Regions from separate parts of the Homo sapiens genome. Here region 2 is linked to region 1. Evidence: promoter capture Hi-C in 16 types of primary human blood cells and fetal thymus (Javierre and others, 2016). All regions are on one chromosome and are shown on one strand. The core of a region is centred on a gene start or on the middle of the fragment in contact, and the rest is flanking DNA. Distances in the headings are between cores, read along the strand shown.

What was found. Contacts are between HindIII fragments. The CHiCAGO score rates a contact against its expected background, and 5 or more counts as called.
Region 2: a fragment that was not itself captured here is called in contact with the fragment with the promoter of ATP5MG in region 1 in 8 of 17 cell types (activated CD4 T cells, megakaryocytes, naive CD4 T cells and 5 more); the score reaches 6.8 in activated CD4 T cells.

Annotation. Positions count from the first base shown.
Region 1 is chr11:118,399,734-118,403,092 of GRCh38, reverse strand. It overlaps ATP5MG (ATP synthase membrane subunit g), which reads right to left and starts at 1,487. Exons shown (of 3, transcript NM_006476.5): 1 at 1,376-1,487. The coding sequence starts at 1,427. The region is part of intron 3 of LOC100131626 (a long non-coding RNA gene); the gene reads left to right. RefSeq lists enhancers at 1-304, 763-1,626, 1,747-1,826. The HindIII fragment of the contact is 3,431 bases long and covers 755-3,359 here.
Region 2 is chr11:118,471,506-118,474,864 of GRCh38, reverse strand. KMT2A (lysine methyltransferase 2A) reads right to left here. Exons shown (of 36, transcript NM_001197104.2): 3 at 550-3,203. Among named protein-coding and RNA genes, the nearest start is that of KMT2A, 37 kb to the right of the region's middle. The HindIII fragment of the contact is 2,178 bases long and covers 663-2,840 here.

The sequences.
Region 1 (3,359 bases), core at 238-2,737:
ACTAGTAGGCTGTGAGGTTCTGCAGGACAGCCTTCAATAACTCATAGTTTGGCTGGTGATGGAGGGAAGGGAGGAGAGAATGGATAAATTACCCGGCTGGCGCTGTGGCTCACACCTGTAACTCTGGCACTTTAGGAGACCGAGGCGGGAGGATCCCTTGAGCCCAGGAGTTAAGAGACTAGCCTGGGCAACATGGTGAAATCCCGTCTCTTAAAACATACAAAAATTAGCTGGGTGTGGTGGTGCGTGCCTGTGATCCCAGCTACTCAGGAGGCTGAGGTGGGAGGATCGCTTGAGCCTAGGAGGTGGAGGCTGCAGTGAGCTGTGATCTGCACTGCACTCCAGCCTGGGCGACAGAGTGAGTCCCTGTCTTCTAGGAAAAAAAAAAAAAAAAAAGAAAGAAAGAAAAAGAAAATACCCAAACCAAACTCAAACACAGCAAAATAGGCTAGAAAGTATTACATTTTTTTTGAAGTTCTGCTTTCTATTCACATTTCATAAACGTAGGCAAAAGTTAAGAGATCCGACCTTCAGTCACTTACTGGAATACAGCACATCTAGGAAAAACTTACGTCAATTTAGCTTATCTCACTTCAGGAATAAAATGAATAGCTTGCCACTGAGAAGACAACTGAAATATTTACTGGCCAAATAAACTAGTACTCAGAGGCTGTGATTATTCAGGGTTGTTGTGAAATACAGCGGTCTACCAGTGAGGCTCTTCAAGCTGAAAAAATTCCACGAATGCTAAGCTTCGTAACAAAGATTATTGTTTATACGGATCCCGTCCTATGCTTCTCGGGGCATGGATACTCATCCATGAAGTCCATTTCCACCTAAAATTTCCCTCGGATTAAAGCGGAAGTATCTTAGAATCCGTCTAGGACAGAAAGCAAAGTCAACGTTCAAAAAAGCTCACCCATCCTTAAACATTTCTGTTGACTTCCAAATACTCCACTGAGAACAACACCACATGTAATGAGGCCGAATTGATTTACTTTCACGTTTCTGCCCTTCCTTTTCTTAGCTCTCCTAACAGAACCATCCCCTCTAGATCCCTGCTCTTAGCGATCTCAGGGGGCGTAATGGTTGCAGCTGCCGGGCAACGCCGGGCTTCCTTCACACTACCTCTCTTCCCAGTCGTGGTTAGAATTCAGGAACTTCTAGGTTGTGTAGAGAACCCAATCTGCAGGTCAGACGAGTGGAAGGCTAGAAAAGAGTCGCCAACCTGCTTCCTGCTCCCTCCACCTGCAGGCCATCCCGCCCCGGCACCCGCAGGCCCCTCGGGTCTTCGCAGCCCGCTTCTTCCTCTCAGGCCATCGCAGGCCTCCCTGCCGCCCGTGTGCCCGCCTCGGCGGTCTCACATCGCGCTCACCGTTCACCAGCGCCGGGGTCTTCTCCACAAGGTTACGGACAAATTGGGCCATGGTTCTGGAATGGAGAGTCCGTCGCCCCGAACCGCCGGCTGAATGTCACCCGCCGGAAGGACCCGCTGCAGGACCCCGTCCCACTTCCAAGGTCAGGCCGCCTCTTTTCGCGCCGGTCGAAGATACTTAAATGTCCAAAGATCTTTGCAGAATCCAGCCTGTCAATTTAATTTTTCAACATGGAAGAGAAAGTGGATATGAAAAGATGGTATTAGAGAGCATGTGAAGAACAGTAGGATTCCGCAGAGAAGCAGGCATTTTGTGGGGCAGCCACTCGTAGAGGTCCGGAAAACCGGCAAGGAGCGGAAATGCGCATGCGCCCTGAACCTGCAGTGCTTTTCTTGGCGCCGACCTCCGCTATTTTGCGTAGGGTGCTTTCGCCGCGATTCTGAGAACCTTTGAAGTCAGTACTGGAGAAGGATTCGCTGAGATTCTTCTAGTCCAACACGATCGTTGTACAGAGGTAGAGAGGGTCCAAGGCCAAACATATAAAGTTAGGGGCCGAGCAATCACCACACAGGCTGTCACCAGGCTCAACCCATAGCCCTTTTTATTTGAGACAGTCTCGCTCTGTCGCCCAGGCTGAAGTGCAGTGGCACGACTTCGGCTCACTGCAACCTCTGTCCCCCGGGTTCCAGCGATTGTTGTGCCTCAGTCTCCCTAGTAGATGGGACTACAGGCGCCCGCCACCACGCCTGGCTAATTTTTGTACTTTTAGTAGAGACGGTGTTTCACCATGTTGGCCAGGCTGGTCTCGAACTCCTAGCTTCAAGTGATCCACCCGCCTTGGTGCTGGGATTACAGGCGTGAATCACCGCGCCTGGCCCCATAGCCCTTTTAAAGTTGATTTTTTGTAATCCCAATCTCCCCAAAGTGCTGTATCACGATTGGAATCCATTTCCCCTAATTCCCTAGTTAACCACAAGGAGCTGTGCAGATGTGAGGAAAAAATCACCTGTATTGAACGCCCACACTATGCCAGGCATTTTGGAATTTAAAGAAAGCCTGTAAGGCATTGTCCCCATTGAGACTGGGCTTGAAAAATGGCCACACAGTTTGGAAGTGGCAGAGTTGAGATCTGAAGTTGCAATGTATACTCAGAGAGGGGGCATTCCATCAGATTAGGCATGGTGCTGATTTCAGCATACTTCCTAGAAAAGATCCTTGAGCCGATGTGTAAGAGAACAGCTGTATACTACAGAGGGCTGAAACTTCATAGTTTAATATGAGGAGGAAAAGATGTATGTAGGGAAGTGGCATTTGATGAGAGGAACAGAACTATAAGTAATGTAACCTGGGGAAGTCTGAGCAGAAGTAAATCTCCGATTTTTGGAATGGTTAGAGAGATGGAAAGAAAAATTAGAAGTGTAATCAAGGAACTAAGAACTTTTCAATGAAGGAGTGATTCTGCTGCCCTAGATACTGCAGAAAAGTCAAATTAAGGATGGGAAAGTTAATTTAGCAATATGGCAATCTTTAACTAACTAGCGCCTTTTCAAAAAATTAGGATAGAATCCAGGGTGAATGGTGAAGAAATATGGCTGTAAAGGATTACAAGTCAGAAAACCAAAGGGGGATGTGGAACTCAGGGGAGAAATTGAAGACAGAGAAGAGGCAGTCATTTATTTATTTAGAGATGGGGTCTTGCCACATTGCCCAGGCTGGCCTGAAACTCCTGGCCTCAAGAGATCATCCCACTTCAGCCTCTTGCTTAGCTCTGGGATTACAGGCACAGGCCATCCTGCCTGATAAAAAGGGATATTGACAAGAGCCCTGATGAGGCAGGAAAAGAGAACTAGCCAGGGATCTATGGGGCCTTTTCCACAGATGTGATTATGGGAGAGAGGTCTGAAAGTCTTCAAAGTCTCTGAAGTCTTTATCTTCCCAGCAAAATGAAGGCAAAGTCATCGGACTGTGAGGGGTCAATGGGAG
Region 2 (3,359 bases), core at 502-3,001, 72 kb before region 1:
GCATGAGCCATCGCACCTGGCCAGTACTTCTCATTTGTATTCTGCAAAAACATATTATCTATTGCTCCAATCCCTCACTACTCAGAGGAAGAGAATGCTCCCCTCCGGTTTTCTATTCTATCGGGGATAGTAAAACAATTTGACTATTAAAATGTACCTTTACAATTAAGTCCCTGGTTTAATTACATCAAACTTATAAGGTACAAACAACTCAGCATCCTCTGTGATATAGTCCCAACCTTAGTTCATTCAGCCTTAGTTCACCAGTTTTCCACAGATGCCAATCCAGCTATCCAGTATTCCTCAAATATATTTCTTACTTTTCCATTTCTACCCACACTGTTCCCTCTACTTAGAATGTTATGTCCTGCCACTTTCTACCTATCAAAATCCTACTGGTCCTTGAAGGACTACTGCAAATACCACTGCCTCCACCATACTTTTCTTGGTTCTCATAACTGGATGTAATTGAACCACTTAGCCTAAAACTTGCCCATAGAAAGGGCTCAATAAACTGTTAGTTTTAATAGGCAAGGTGGAAAAGAGTACCTGTGCTTTGGGCTGGTCGGTTTGTTTAAGACTCTTACTCTTCTCAATCTTGCAGAGCTGAGCTTTGGCCTTTTTTAGGAGGCTGGCAACCCTCTTGTCAGTCATTGGAAGCTTGTCTGCCTGAGCCAACATGGAGCCTATGGAGGAAGTGGAATGTTTAACAGTGCTAGATGAAGGAGTGGAAAGGCAGAGGGTTTTCTCCTTCTCCAGGGATGGGGCAGTTGGGCCGAGGTCCAAGTTGGTTTTTTCCAGATTTCCTCTCCCTTTCTTTATAAGTATTTTGGTTTTGACAGCTGTTGTATCCCCAAGAGTCACAGAAGTAATATCAGTCCCAGAATCATGTGATGAAGACTTCTTCCGCCCTGTTGCTTTTTTGGCAGAAGATGAAGTGGCAACATCTTCACCAACAACCTTCTCTTTGGAAACCCTACCCACAGGATACAAAGCAGAACTACTCTGAATTTCTGATCCCTTTTTCCTTTTCTCTTTCCTTGACTCCCGCTTATTCTCCTTTTCTCTCTCCCGGTCTCTCTCTCTACTCTTGTCCTTCTCCACGCTCTTGTCAGCATCTCGATCTTTGGACAGCTCCTCGGGGGCCTTGTCTTTATTTCTCCCTCTTTCAGTCTGAGAGCCTGGGGTAAACCAAGGGAAGAGAGGAGTAGGACTACTTGATGAAAATGGCTCTGCCGGAGCACTAGTCTGCTTCCTTGGTCTCTGATTTTTCTCTGCAGATTCCCCAGACTGAGTCAGGGAATGAGAAGGAAAAGTAAAAGTTGGGTTTAAGGCACTAGTGGCAAGAGGACTAACAGAAATGCTTAACGAGGAAGAGACAGAAGACGGGGGGGTGAGAGGTGAGAGCTCAGAACTACTAAGCCTTCCACTTCTTGTCCTCATGGAGTGAGAAGGAGATCTTGGTTCAGATCGAATAGGACTAAACACTTTTCTTTTCCTTTTTCTATTGGATACTCCTGAAGAAGATGTTCCAGCAGAAGTTCGATTACTAGGCAAGGTTACAGACTCAAATATTCTAGAGTGAGCCTCACTTGGAGTAAATCTTGGAGCTCTCAGAAGAGGGCTCCTTTTGTGCATATCAAACCTTGTTCCAGAATGGAGTGGCGAAAACAATCGGGCTGAAGCAGCGGTACCAGATGCAGAAAAACCAGATGCAAAGCCAACGTCCTCGGGAGTTAGTGGAGGGGGTCGGAAATTATCAAATATTGGTTTGCGAATAAGACCTTCTTTGGCATACTTTGCTGAGGAAAAGTATTGTGGCTCTGACCTAGAATGCTTTAAAGAAGTCCACCTAAATGTCGGTTCTCGCAAAATAGATTTTCGCTTCCCTTGCATAGGAGCAGTGGAAGCAGGCAAAAATGGTGATGCTAAGGGGATTGTTGGAGGCATAAGCCAAGGTGTGTGGTCAGAGATACTGGAGGCTGGCTGCAGTGGTGGCGGTGGAGTCAGCAGAGGTGGAGGTGGAGACGAGGAGGTCTGCTGCTGGGGGGCACTTTGTAGAGTTGATAATTTTTTCGTCGTTCTAGATCCAAAACTTCTCTCCGACACTGAATACCTTCTGCTTCTCCTATCATTACTCTCATTTTCTGGGGACTGGGAAATGGGCAGTGGAGGATGAACTTCAGGGGTATCGCTCCGCTCCTCAGGAAGTACCTGAATCTCCTCAGAAGCCTGAGAGTCTGTGGAGGTATCAACACTGGGGCTACTAGATCGAGAGGAGTCTGAAGACATTTGAGAGGAGTGCTGAGAAGCTGCACTTGATTTTTCAGAAGATCCACAGGACGGGGCACTGAATCTACTATTCGGTGTAGACTCTAATCGGGCAATTTTAATTGGAGGGTCATAATCCTCATCCTCTATAAACCGCCGAGGGGTCTTAATGATCCGCGAGGAGATAGCACTGACAACAGGCATGATGAACTGTCGAATATTTTTGACCTGTGTCTTCACCTTTCTTCCCTGCAGCTGAGCTGCTTCTTTTTCAATTTTCTTTTGAGCCCCCTTTTTTGCCCTCTGTAAGAGTTGCTTAGCAATGGTTGCATCTGTCCTTTTTGAAGAAGGAATAATCCTAACTGGCTTAATCCTTCGAGGGCTTTGTCTGACAACTGTCTTATCTTCTTTTGTAAGTGGAGGTGTTCCTTCCTTGTCTTTCCGGACTTTCTGGGGCTTTTCCAGTTCAGAATTAATGAGGAGACCCGAAGGGGTCTTTATCCTTTCTGTTGATGGAGGCCTTCCTCTCCGTCGTACAATTTGTACCCCCTTCCTTCCTATTTGAAGCTTCCCTGTCTTAAACTTAGACTTGAGAGGAGAGAGTTTACCTGCTCTTAATTTTTTAATCTTTGTGGCTTGCTGAAACGTAGCAGAAGGTGTCCTTTTAATTTTTTTCAGGCTATCTTCTTTGTTTCCCTTTGGTAACTCTGAAATGTCCTTTCCATGTGTTATTTTGATTTTTACTCCAGGGAAGGTGGGAGGTCTTCCTCTCTTCTTTTCTATACTTTTAGAATCTTTCTTCTTGATCTTATCTCCAGATTTGGTCTCTGATTTATTTAGAGGGGAAAACACAGATGGATCTGAGAGGATAGCTGAATTTCGGTCAGAGCCACTTCTAGGTCTCCCACGAGGTTTTCGAGGACTAGTTTTAACTGTGTATAGAAATTAAACAATGAAGAGCATATATTTAGCTGTGTAGTTTAGGTTTTAACTAAGCTGAATATAACTTAGCACTGGCCATTTTGTACTGAGTTCAACTTGAGTCTAATGAGTCAATCAAACATCTTAATTGTGCTTAGTTTCTTTTC